Regions from separate parts of the Homo sapiens genome. Here all the other regions are linked to region 2. Evidence: promoter capture Hi-C in 16 types of primary human blood cells and fetal thymus (Javierre and others, 2016). All regions are on one chromosome and are shown on one strand. The core of a region is centred on a gene start or on the middle of the fragment in contact, and the rest is flanking DNA. Distances in the headings are between cores, read along the strand shown.

Evidence for each region. The method cuts DNA at HindIII sites, captures the fragments that hold promoters and counts their contacts. A CHiCAGO score of 5 or more calls a contact.
Region 1: a fragment that was not itself captured here is called in contact with the fragment with the promoter of PDZD8 in region 2 in 1 of 17 cell types (neutrophils); the score reaches 5.2 in neutrophils.
Region 3: a contact is called between a fragment that was not itself captured here and the fragment with the promoter of PDZD8 in region 2, in 1 of 17 cell types (neutrophils). The highest score is 5.4, in neutrophils.

The regions. Positions count from the first base shown.
Region 1 is chr10:119,586,444-119,589,781 of GRCh38, forward strand. It overlaps TIAL1 (TIA1 cytotoxic granule associated RNA binding protein like 1), which reads right to left. Exons shown (of 12, transcript NM_003252.4): 2 at 1,709-1,805. Among named protein-coding and RNA genes, the nearest start is that of TIAL1, 8.9 kb to the right of the region's middle. The HindIII fragment of the contact is 3,493 bases long and covers 105-3,338 here.
Region 2 is chr10:117,373,309-117,377,146 of GRCh38, forward strand. PDZD8 (PDZ domain containing 8) reads right to left here and starts at 2,132. Exons shown (of 5, transcript NM_173791.5): 1 at 1,048-2,132. The coding sequence starts at 1,919. RefSeq lists silencers at 1,623-1,802, 1,903-2,222 and an enhancer at 2,453-2,572. The HindIII fragment of the contact is 15,008 bases long and covers 1-3,838 here.
Region 3 is chr10:119,719,158-119,722,609 of GRCh38, forward strand. No RefSeq gene overlaps it. Among named protein-coding and RNA genes, the nearest start is that of INPP5F, 5.2 kb to the right of the region's middle. RefSeq lists an enhancer at 2,201-3,089. The HindIII fragment of the contact is 8,129 bases long and covers 1-3,452 here.

The sequences.
Region 1 (3,338 bases), core at 601-3,100, 2.2 Mb after region 2:
TCTTACCTAGACTAGTGAAGTAAATCCAGATGGTTTTTCTCCTTCTGCTCTTGCCCGCTACAATCTATTCTCCATAAAACAGTCATTCTCTACATAGAGTAGTAAGCTTAAATATGCAAATCTTGGCACCTCATCCCCCTGCTTAAGCCCCTCCACTGGTCTGCCACAGCAATCAGAGTAAAACCTAAACTATGTCATGGACCATAATGTCCTGTGATTCTGAATCCTGCTGTTAGACTCATTTCCCTTAACTCCCCTCCATCCCTCACCAGACTCTAGCCATCGGTCTTTGATTCCACAAACACAAGTTCATTACCAACTCAAGACTTGTATTTGCTGTTTCCTCTGCCTCCAGCTCTTACCATAGATAGCACCATCTTGTTATTCATCTCAGCTCAAAGAGGTGACATCTCTCATCACCTAGCCTATATAGCACCAACCCTCCAATCATCACAGAACTCTGTTTTATTCTCTTCATGGCTTACATCCCTATTTGCTTGGGAAACTCATTTGGCTGTCTCTCCATTATATCTCCAGTACCTTGTATAGTGCCTAGTGCAAAGGAAATTTTTGATCGATGAAAGCACAAATAAATAATTAAAGGCAGGAAGGAAAAATATAATACACCAGAACAAAATGATGATTGTCATTACTTGGGAAAGACAATCAAAAGGCCAATGCACTTTAAAGGTTTTTAACAGTTCTCCGTTTCAGGATAAAACAAACTCTTTAGCACAGTTTCTAGCCCTTTCCATAAACTCCTGCCATCTCTTACGACTAATTCCATTTTAACTACAACCATGCTACGGGTTCTATTTTTCCCTCTCTGTCTCAAGCACTCCTGCTCTCCCTACCAACCTGGATCAAAGTTCCCTTTATTTGGAATCCCTTCTTCCCTCAATTCCTTTCTAGCCAGTATGTACTACTATCCTTTCAAGGTTTCCGCCTAGGCAGTGAGTCCTCCAAGAAGCCGCTCACTGACCTAAGGCTGCACTGGATACACATTTGCTCCCACAGCACTTTAAGTTGTCTGCTTCTAGAGCATTTATTATCCTACTTCCTAAGTGCCTGCTAACTCCTTTGTCTCCCTACTAAACTGTAAAATTCTCTGGGCCAAGGAACTATCTTTATTCACCAGTGTATCTCTAGCACTTACTGCAGTATCTAGTACATAGGAAATAGTCCAAAAAAAAAAAAGAAAGCTGATCAATGAACAAAAACACAAGGAAGAAAAGCCTAAAACATGACTAATTGGGTGCTGCTACAGTCTTAGCAGGAAAGTATAAAAAGGTAAGTATTTGCTACAGACACACGAGACGAACGGTGCTGCACACTACACACATAATAACTTCGTGTTCTCGCACATGAACACATGCTGTCTAAATCGTTAACATTCTTATTGGAATTGTATGAAATACTTTCCAATTTTTCACCATTCTGAAATGAGCTCTAATAATGTTCTGAAAGCAGAATCACTTCAAGATAACCACACCATGAAGAATGACCGTTTGAGCTTAACAGCACGGAAACTTTGCCCTCTTAAATAAAACTCCATTCTAAGCCTAGTTTGTCAGCCAAATCAAAGTAATAAGTCAACACAACACAAATCTCTCCACCAGAATAACTTGAGGCTTACAATGAAATTTTAAAATCATGCTAATCAACCCATCATGCTAATTGTCAGCACATGGAACTGGGAAGATCTTACCTCTGTTATCATTTTACAGCTTTTACAGGGTCCAATCTGACTGAACAACTGAAGTATAAGGACTTCTGTCACATCTCTGGAAAGGTTACCTACGTATCTGCACAAGAAAAAAATACGTTATCAGCAATTTTTCCTTTAGCTCTGGCTCTAATGTGTTATCATCTAATTCATCACCTTTTCTTTCTTTCTTTCTTTCTTTCTTTTTTTTTTAGATGGAGTTTTGCTCTTGTTGCCCAGGCTGGAGTGCAATGGCATGATCTCAGCTCACTGCAACTTCCGCCTCCCAGATTCAAACGATTTTCCTGTCTCAGCCTCCCAAGTAGCTGGGATTACAGGCGCATGCCACCATGCCTGGCTAATTTTTGTATTCTTAGTAGAGACAGGGTTTCATCGTATTGGTCAGGCTGGTCTTGAACTCCTGACCTCAGGTGATCTGTCCGCCTTGGCCTCCCAAAGTGCTGGAATTACAAGCGTGAGCCACTGCGCCCGGCCACCTTTTATTTCATTTTAACTTCCTCTGTTTTCAACAAAATTTCTCCAATTAAACCTGATCCTATGAAAGTAAGATTAACCCTTATTTAGGAAAGCAACAATTGTTCTTAGGCCACTAAAATACCACTCTGAAAGACATTTAAAGAACAAATCAATGTGATCTTGTATACCCCAATGGCATTATTATTCTGTACCCTGGATATCATTTTCTCATCTTATTCTAATTGTTAAAATTTTAAACTGGTCTCAAGATAACTACAATTTCTAATTAAAAATAATTTATAACACACACACACATACAACAAATACTAATTCATTAAAACATCTGATTGTAATAGGATATTAAACATAAAGTGAGTTTATCTTAGATTCCCAACCAAAGCAATTACATGAACAAAGAACAGAATTAAAGTTATAGTAAAACATACAGAGGGTGGAGGGTTTTTGTTGTTTTGTTTTTGGCTGAGTAAGGTTGTTTGCAATGATGTCTTCACTGTTTCATTTTAGGAGAGCAGGGTAAAATATAAAATTTCCTAGTCTAAAATGCATCAGAATCAACAAAATATATATGTATTTTTTTGAGATGGAGTCTCACTCTGTCACCCAGGCTGGAGTGCAGTGGCATGATCTCAGCTCACTGCAACCTCCGCCTCCCAGGTTCAAGCGATTCTCCTGCCTCAGCCTCCCAGGTAGCTGGGACTACAGGCGTGCACCACCACGCCCGGCTAATTTTTGTATTTTTAGTAGAGACGGGGTTTCACCATGTTGGCCTGGCTGGTCTCAAACTCCTAACCTCAAGTGATCCACCTGCCTGAGTCTCCCAAAGTGCTGGGATTACAGGAGTGAGCCACCATGCCCAGCCAACAAAATATATCTTAATGTAGATAAAAAAGCTAATACAAAGATTTCTTAAGAAATTCAGAGAAAAACTAAGACAAATCCAGGCATACTTTTGACTATGGACACTTAAAAATTTGGGTTTTTTTTCCTAATTACAATTGAATGTGTTTTGTGTAAAAGATTTTAAATACAGGAAAGTTTAAAAAAGAAAAGAAAAAAATGCTACTTCATCACACAGAGAGGACCACCTTGGTTTATGTCTTGTACTATGGATTTATCTTAATTTATCTAAATAAAT
Region 2 (3,838 bases), core at 882-3,381:
CTTGAGAGAAGAACTTACAGTCACAGAGAGTAAATGCTTGATGGGCAGAGTCTGGATCTGTGTTCTACAATCTACCCAAAATGGGCAAATGACATTAATACAAAATGTAAAGTACACTATGTACAGGCTCCCAACTCCTTTCCCATCTGCTGTGGAAAGTATTCCCGGGCCGGGCGCGGTGGTTCACTCCTGTAATCCTAACACTTTGGGAGGCCGAGGCAGGCGGATTACTTGAGGTCAGGAGTTCGAAACCAGCCTGGCCAATACGGTGAAACTCCGTCTCTACTAAAAAATACAAAAAAAAAAAAAAAAAAAAAAAAAATCAGCAAGGCGTGGTGCCATACGCCTGTAACCCCAGCTACCTGGGAGGCTGAGGCAGGAGAATCGCTCGAACCTGGGAGGCAGAGGTTGCAGTAAGCCGAGATCGCGCCACTGTACTCCAGCCTGGGCGACACAGCAAGACTCTGTCTCAAAAACAAAAACAAAAAAAACCCACAAAAGTATTCCTTTGCAAGAGTTACCACCTCTGCCTTGAAAGGTGTCAAACCATCAAAGCAAAAGTGGCTTGCAATGTCAAATTAGCACAGACCTGGGCTATAAGCACACTCTTCACGCGTGTACTGTGTCCAGGAACAATTTCTCAAAGCGGCCAAGGGGATGCTGCAAAGCCAGTGACGCGGCTGCCCTCAATGCAGCAACCACATAGAGGGAGAGTTTCTCAACAGTCCCAGAAGCGACTCCTGGGGATTAGGGTAGGCTTCCCTTCCATTTCCAATATGCTGCTTATAAAAGGAGACGATTCTGCCCGCGTTGACAGCACCCTGAGTCCCCATGAACACGCGAAAAGGTTTCTAGCTCCTATCAATGCCGTTCGGAAGCAAAGCAAGTGTTCACGACTCGCCTTGATCTGGGGCCCTGTCCAGGGTGGGAAGGCCCCAGAAGCAGGCGCCAGGACAGAAATGAGCCTTTGCCCTTCCCAATCCACGCAGCGTCCCGCCCAGGCCCGGGTTCCCGGCAGCCAGGCCCCCTCCCCGACCTCCAGCTCACCTGATCTTGTAATTCGGTAGGGTGTGCTTGCGCTTGATGATCTTCTTGAGCTGGTTGACGATGATGGAGGTGAGCTGGGGCATGGGCCGCCCTTCAAACTGGGAGCGCACCTCGAAGTCGATCAGCGGGTCTTCCACGAAGGAGAAGAACCAGTGGGTGAAGGGCACGCGCGTAAAGACCAAGCGCAGCCTTCCCACCACGCGGGACAGCTTGACAAACAAGTAGGCGGACTTGCCGAAGACCAGGTCCACGTCGATGGCCAGGTGGAAGCCCCCGTTGTACTCCACCTCCGCCTCGAAGGCCAGCTCCTCGGGGCAGGCGGCGGGCAGCGCCTCCCCTTCAGGGCCATCGGGCTCCCCGGTGGCCGAGGGCACGACTGGCCGCACGAGCCGGATGGTCTTGATGAAGGGCACCGTCTCGCCCAGGAACACGTCCCGCAGGCTCAGCCCCTCCAGCAGGCGCCCGGCCGTCTTGGTCTGCAGCAGCTCCTCGAACTCCACCTTGATCTTCTTGGTGACCCAGCGGCGGGTCAGCGCGGTGTCCCGCAACTCCCGGAACAGGAATAGGATGGTGGCGTTGAGGAAGTAGCAAGTCTCCCGCGTCGGCGGGGCGGGGGTCTCGGGGGCCGCGGTGGGGGTCGCGCCGCCCTCAGGGGCCGCTCCGGAGGGCTCCTCATCCCGGCCGCCGCCATAAAGGTACTCCCTTAGGAGCAGGCCCGGCACTGGCTTGATGTAGCGGAAGCCCTCGCCCGCGCGGGCGGCCTCGTCCGCCGGCGGCTCGGGCTGTCTGCGGTACAGCAGGAAGAACTGGGCGAGGAGCGTGAGGAAGGAACCCAGCACGGCCGACGCCAGGATCATGAGCAGCAGCCCCATCCCGCCACCGCCTCCGCCCGGGCCCCTACTCCCGCGCCCACAGCGCCGCTTTCTTCACGCCGCCGCCCCCGCTGCCTCCATTTTGAGGACATCGGGCGGCTGGGTCGGGGCGAGCGGCTCCGTGGGCCTCGTCCAGGGGCTCGGGCCGGCGCGCTGCGGCGCCCGAGCCCGCAGCGGCCCGCGCCTCCTCAGACGCTCCCGAAGGGCCGGTGTGGCGGCGGCGGCAGCGGGGCCGGGACCGGCGCCTCCCTCAGGCCTCCACTCATTGGACGAGCAGCGCGTGACGTCAGAGGCGTGCTCGCTCCCGGCGGCGTCGCCCAGCAGTCGGCGCCCGGGCACGCGGACGCGGGTCCTCCTTTACTTCTCTGCGGCCCTTCCAACCTCGTCCCCCCACGCCAACATTCCAATCCCCGCGGCGCGCGCCGCCACCCACGTGGCCGTCACTTCTGGAGCTGCGGTCGGGATCTGGGAGGACGGCTGGGGACGCGGGCTGGAGGATAAGGCGGTCCGGCGGAGCGGGCCTGACGCGTTCCGGATGCCGGCCATCCCGTTATCCTCGGCTGCGCCCATCCCCCGTCTCTGGCCGCAGTCCCCGCGGTTACCTCTGCAGCGGCGTCGCTCATCCTGCGGTGTGCTTCTTCCACTCGCACCCGTGACAGCCCGGCTGGCAGCGGCGCTTTCCCTGCGGGCAGCACCGCAGACGATCCGAGCGGGCCTTTCGGACGCTTCCCAAGCCCACGGCGAGAGGGGACCGACTGCCTCAGAGGCAGCCATCGCGGACCTGCCGTCCCCCCGGCAGACGCTCTGCGTCCGCGGAGGGTGGGCCCTGGGAAGGAGGGACGCAGGGAAAGGGCGCGCCACGCGGAATGACTTTCCCACCGAGGTGGATCTTCGAAATTTCAGGGAGGAGGAAGTTGAAAGAACAGCCAGGAGGAGAGATGCATAGTGAAACGAGTTTGCCAAGTGATTGGAAGATTAATATGCGACCCGCTGTCAGTCTCTGGTTAAGCCGGTAGTCCATCTATGAGGCAGTTATTCACTGTTAGCCCCCACCCACTTGACAGATGCCAACACTGGTGCAGAGAGCGTGGGGAGGTTGCGTGGGGCCGCAGAGTGGAGCCTGGTTTATCTAACACTAAACCCTAATGTCTTGATCACTACTCTCTGCCCTAACACAGAAACTGCTTCAGTTGTAAGCAGGCCAGTGGGTTCCCTAATGTTCAGGAAGGGAGAATTGGGGAGGCGGATTAGGGAAGACGGCAAGGAATTTTGCATAGAGTAGCACCTTAACCAAAGCCACGAAGCTAAGCCAGGTTGCCCAGCAACAGCGTTACTCCTCCTGCCCTCTGACTACTTAGTGGTTACATCATAAATGCTTATCCCTCCAAGCACGTGGAGTTCCAGTCCTGCAGGAGTCAGATATCCCATACCTTAAAGGCCGATTCTGGCTGTACCTAAGGAGCCAGGGCAGGGCTCCTCTCTAGCCCTTGAAAACCTTCAAGCCGGCCGGGCGTGGTGGCTCACGCCTGTAATCCCAGCACTTTGGGAGGCCGAGGCGGGCAGATCACGAGGTCAAGAGATCGAGACCAGCCTGGCCAACATGGTGAAACCCGTCTATACTAAAAATACAAAAATTAACCGGTCGTGGTGGTGCGCGCCTGTAGTCCCAGCTACTCAGGAGGCTGAGGCAGGAGAATCACTTGAACCCGGTAGGCGGGGGTTGCAGTGAGCCAAGATCACGCCATTGCACCCCAGCCTGGGCGACAGTGCAAGACCCTGTCTCAAAAAAAAAAGAAGAAAACCTCCAAGCCAAGGATTCTCTTAACTGTAGGTGATTCTACCACAAAAATAGACCTGACCCAGCTGGGACAGGTACAGAACTTCGGAACCAGGCTTATCATGCCTTACCGAATCATGCC
Region 3 (3,452 bases), core at 71-2,570, 2.3 Mb after region 2:
GATTCTCCTGTCTCAGCCTCCTGAGTAGCTGGGATTATAGGCACCTGCCACTACGCACTGCTAATTTTTGGTATTTTTAGTGGAGATGGGGTTTCACCATGTTGGCCAGGCTGGTCTTGAACTCATGACCTCAGGTGAGCTGCCCGCCTCAGCCTCCCAAAGTGCTGGGATTACAGGCATGAGCCACCACGCCCGGCCACCCCATTTTTTTTTTTTTTTTTTTTTTCGAGACTGGGTCTCACTCCTCGCTCTCCTGCCCAGGCTAGAGTGCAGTGGCTCAATCATAGCTCATGGTAGCCTTGAACTCTTGGGTTCAAGTGATCCTCCCATCTCAGCCTCCTGAGTAGGTCCTTGACAATTTTATCAGGCCGTACAATTAAAAAGCCAGTAATTATTAACCCCCAAAGTAAAGAAGTGAAAAAAGGGTGGTCTTCTACATTAAATAAAAGGGCCTCTTTTAGGCCAACATGACAGTCTCCTCATGAGGGACTTTCCTTTTTCTTGGTCTGTGGTGCTTCTCAACTATTTTATCTTATTTTATTTTATTTTATTTTATAGACAGTCTCGCTATGTCACCCAGGCTGGAATACAGTGGCGCCACCTCGGCTCACTGCCACCTCCGCCTCCCAGGTTCAAGTGATTCTCCTGCCTCAGCCTCCCGAGTAGCTGGGATTACAGGCGCCCACCACCACGCATGTCTAATTTTTGTATTTTTAGTAGAGACAGGGTTTCACCATGTTGGCCAGGCTGGTCCTTGAACTCTGGCATCAAGTGATCCGCCTGCCTTGGCCTCCCAAAGTGCTGGAATTACAGGTGTGAGCCACTTTGCCCAGCCTGAAGAACTTTATATATGTCAAAGTGCTCCAACAGTACAATTTCCAGCCATCCTTGATGAAGTTATGTGAGGAGGTAGCATTAAGTTTGCTGGGTGATAAATCCATAAGAAATTGGCTGTTGATTGGCCAAACGTAAAAATTTGGCTTGTGTTTTAAGTCTGTTTGGGCTAACAAAAAAATACTATAGGCTGGGTGACTTATAAACAACAGAATTTTTTTTTTTTTTTCCCAACAGTTCTGAAGGCTGGGAAGTTCAAGATCAAGGCACTGGTAGATTCAGTGTCTGGTGAGGGCCTGCTCTCTGGTTCTTAGACGAACATCTGTTTCCTCGAGATGCCCTCATGTGGTGGAAGGGGCAAGGGACCTTGCTGGGGTCTCTTATAAGTGCTCTAATGAGCTAATTACTTTCCAAAGGCCCTCTCTCCTAATACTATCACCTTACAGGTTAGGATTTCAACATACAAATTTTGGGAAAGCAGTCAATTGCATTCTGCCCTCATGTTTCTCCAGAGAAACAGAAACAATATATATGCATATACAGAAGAAAATTTATGATGAGGGATTGGCTCATGAGATTATGGAGGTTGAGAAGTCCCAGTCTACCTTCTGCAAGCTGGAGAACCAGGAAAGCCTGTGGTATAGTTCCAGTCCAAACCTAAAGGCCTAAGAACCAGGGAGGTCAATCTGGGTCTGAGAGCCCAGAACTATATCTGCTCAGATATCTGCAGGCAGGAGGGATGAATAACCGGGTTCAATGGGGAACACATTTGTTCTTCCACCTTTTTGTTCTATTCTTGTCCTTAAGGATTGGATGACCACCATATAGATGAGGGCAGTCTTCTTTACTTAGTCTACCAATTCAAATGCTAATCTCTTCCGGAAACACCCTCACACACACATATCCAGGAATAGTGTTTTACCAGCTTTCTGAGTAGCTCTTAGCCTAGTCATGTTGACACATAAAATTCACCATCACAGCTTGTGAGTGTTTTGGGCCCTTAACCCTAAAGTTAAGCCACCTGTCAGACCTGCAATCCCGGCACTTTGGGAGGCCGAGGCGGGTGGATCATGAGGTCAGGAGTTCAAGACCAGCTTGGCTAACATGGTGAAACTCCATTTCTACTAAAAATACAAAAAATTAGCTGGGCGTGGTGGCACATGCCTGTAATTCCAGTTACTCGGGAGGCTGAGGCAGGAGAATCGCTTGAACCTGGGAGGTGGAGGTTGCAGTGAGCCGAGATCGCGCCAGTGCACTCCAGCTTGGGTAACAAGAGTGAAACTCCATCTCAAAAAAAAAACAAAAAACAAAAAACAAAAAACAGAGCCTGGGCAAGAGAAGGAGACTGTGTCTCAAAAATAAAAAGTACCGCTCCCTCTCCCTCTCCCTCTCCCCACGGTCTCCCTCTCATGTGGAGCCGAAGCTGGACTGTACTGCTGCCATCTCGGCTCACTGCAACCTCCCTGCCTGATTCTCCTGCCTCAGCCTGCCGAGTGCCTGCGATTGCAGGCACGCGCCGCCACGCCTGACTGGTTTTGGTGGAGACGGGGTTTCGCTGTGTTGGCCGGGCCGGTCTCCAGCCCCTAACCGCGAGTGATCCACCAGCCTCGGCCTCCCGAGGTGCCGGGATTGCAGACGGAGTCTCGTTCACTCAGTGCTCAATGGTGCCCAGGCTGGAGTGCAGTGGCATGATCTCGGCTCGCTACAACCTCCACCTCCCAGCCGCCTGCCTTGGCCTCCCAAAGTGCTGAGATTGCAGCCTCTGCCCGGCCGCCACCCCGTCTGGGAAGCGAGGAGTGTCTCTGCCTGGCCGCCCATCGTCTGGGATGTGAGGAGCCCCTCTGCCTGGCTGCCCAGTCTGGAAAGTGAGGGGCGTCTCCGCCCGGCCGCCATCCCATCTAGGAAGTGAGGAGCGCCTCTTCCCAGCCGCCATCACATCTGGGAAGTGAGGAGCGTCTCTGCCCGGCCGCCCATCGTCTGAGATGTGGGGAGCGCCTCTGCCCCGCCGCCCCATCTGGGATGTGAGGAGCGCCTCTGCCCAGCCGCGACCCTGTCTGGGAGGTGAGGAGCGTCTCTGCCCGGCCGCCCCGTCTGAGAAGTGAGGAGACCCTCTGCCTGGCAACCACCCCATCTGAGAAGTGAGGAGCCCCTCCACCGGGCAGCTGCCCCGTCTGAGAAGTGAGGAGCCTCTCCGCCCGGCAGCCACCCCATCTGGGAAGTGAGGAGCGTCTCCGCCCGGCAGCCACCCCGTCCGGGAGGGAGGTGGGGGGGGTCAGCCCCCCGCCCGGCCAGCCGCCCCTTCCGGGAGGGAGGTGGGGGGTCAGCCCCCCGCCCGGCCAGCCGCCCCGTCCGGGAGGGAGGTGGGGGGGTCAGCCCCCCGCCCGGCCAGCCGCCCCGTCGGGGAGGGAGGTGGGGGGATCAGGCCCCTGCCCGGCCAGCCGCCCCGTCCGGGAGGGAGGTGGGGGGGTCAGCCCCCTGCCCGGCCAGCCGCCCCGTCTGGGAGGTGAGGAGCGCCTCTGCCCGGCCGCCCCTACTGGGAAGTGAGGAGCCCCTCTGCCCGGCCACCACCCCGTCTGGGAGGTGTGCCCAACAGCTCATTGAGAACGGGCCAGGATGAC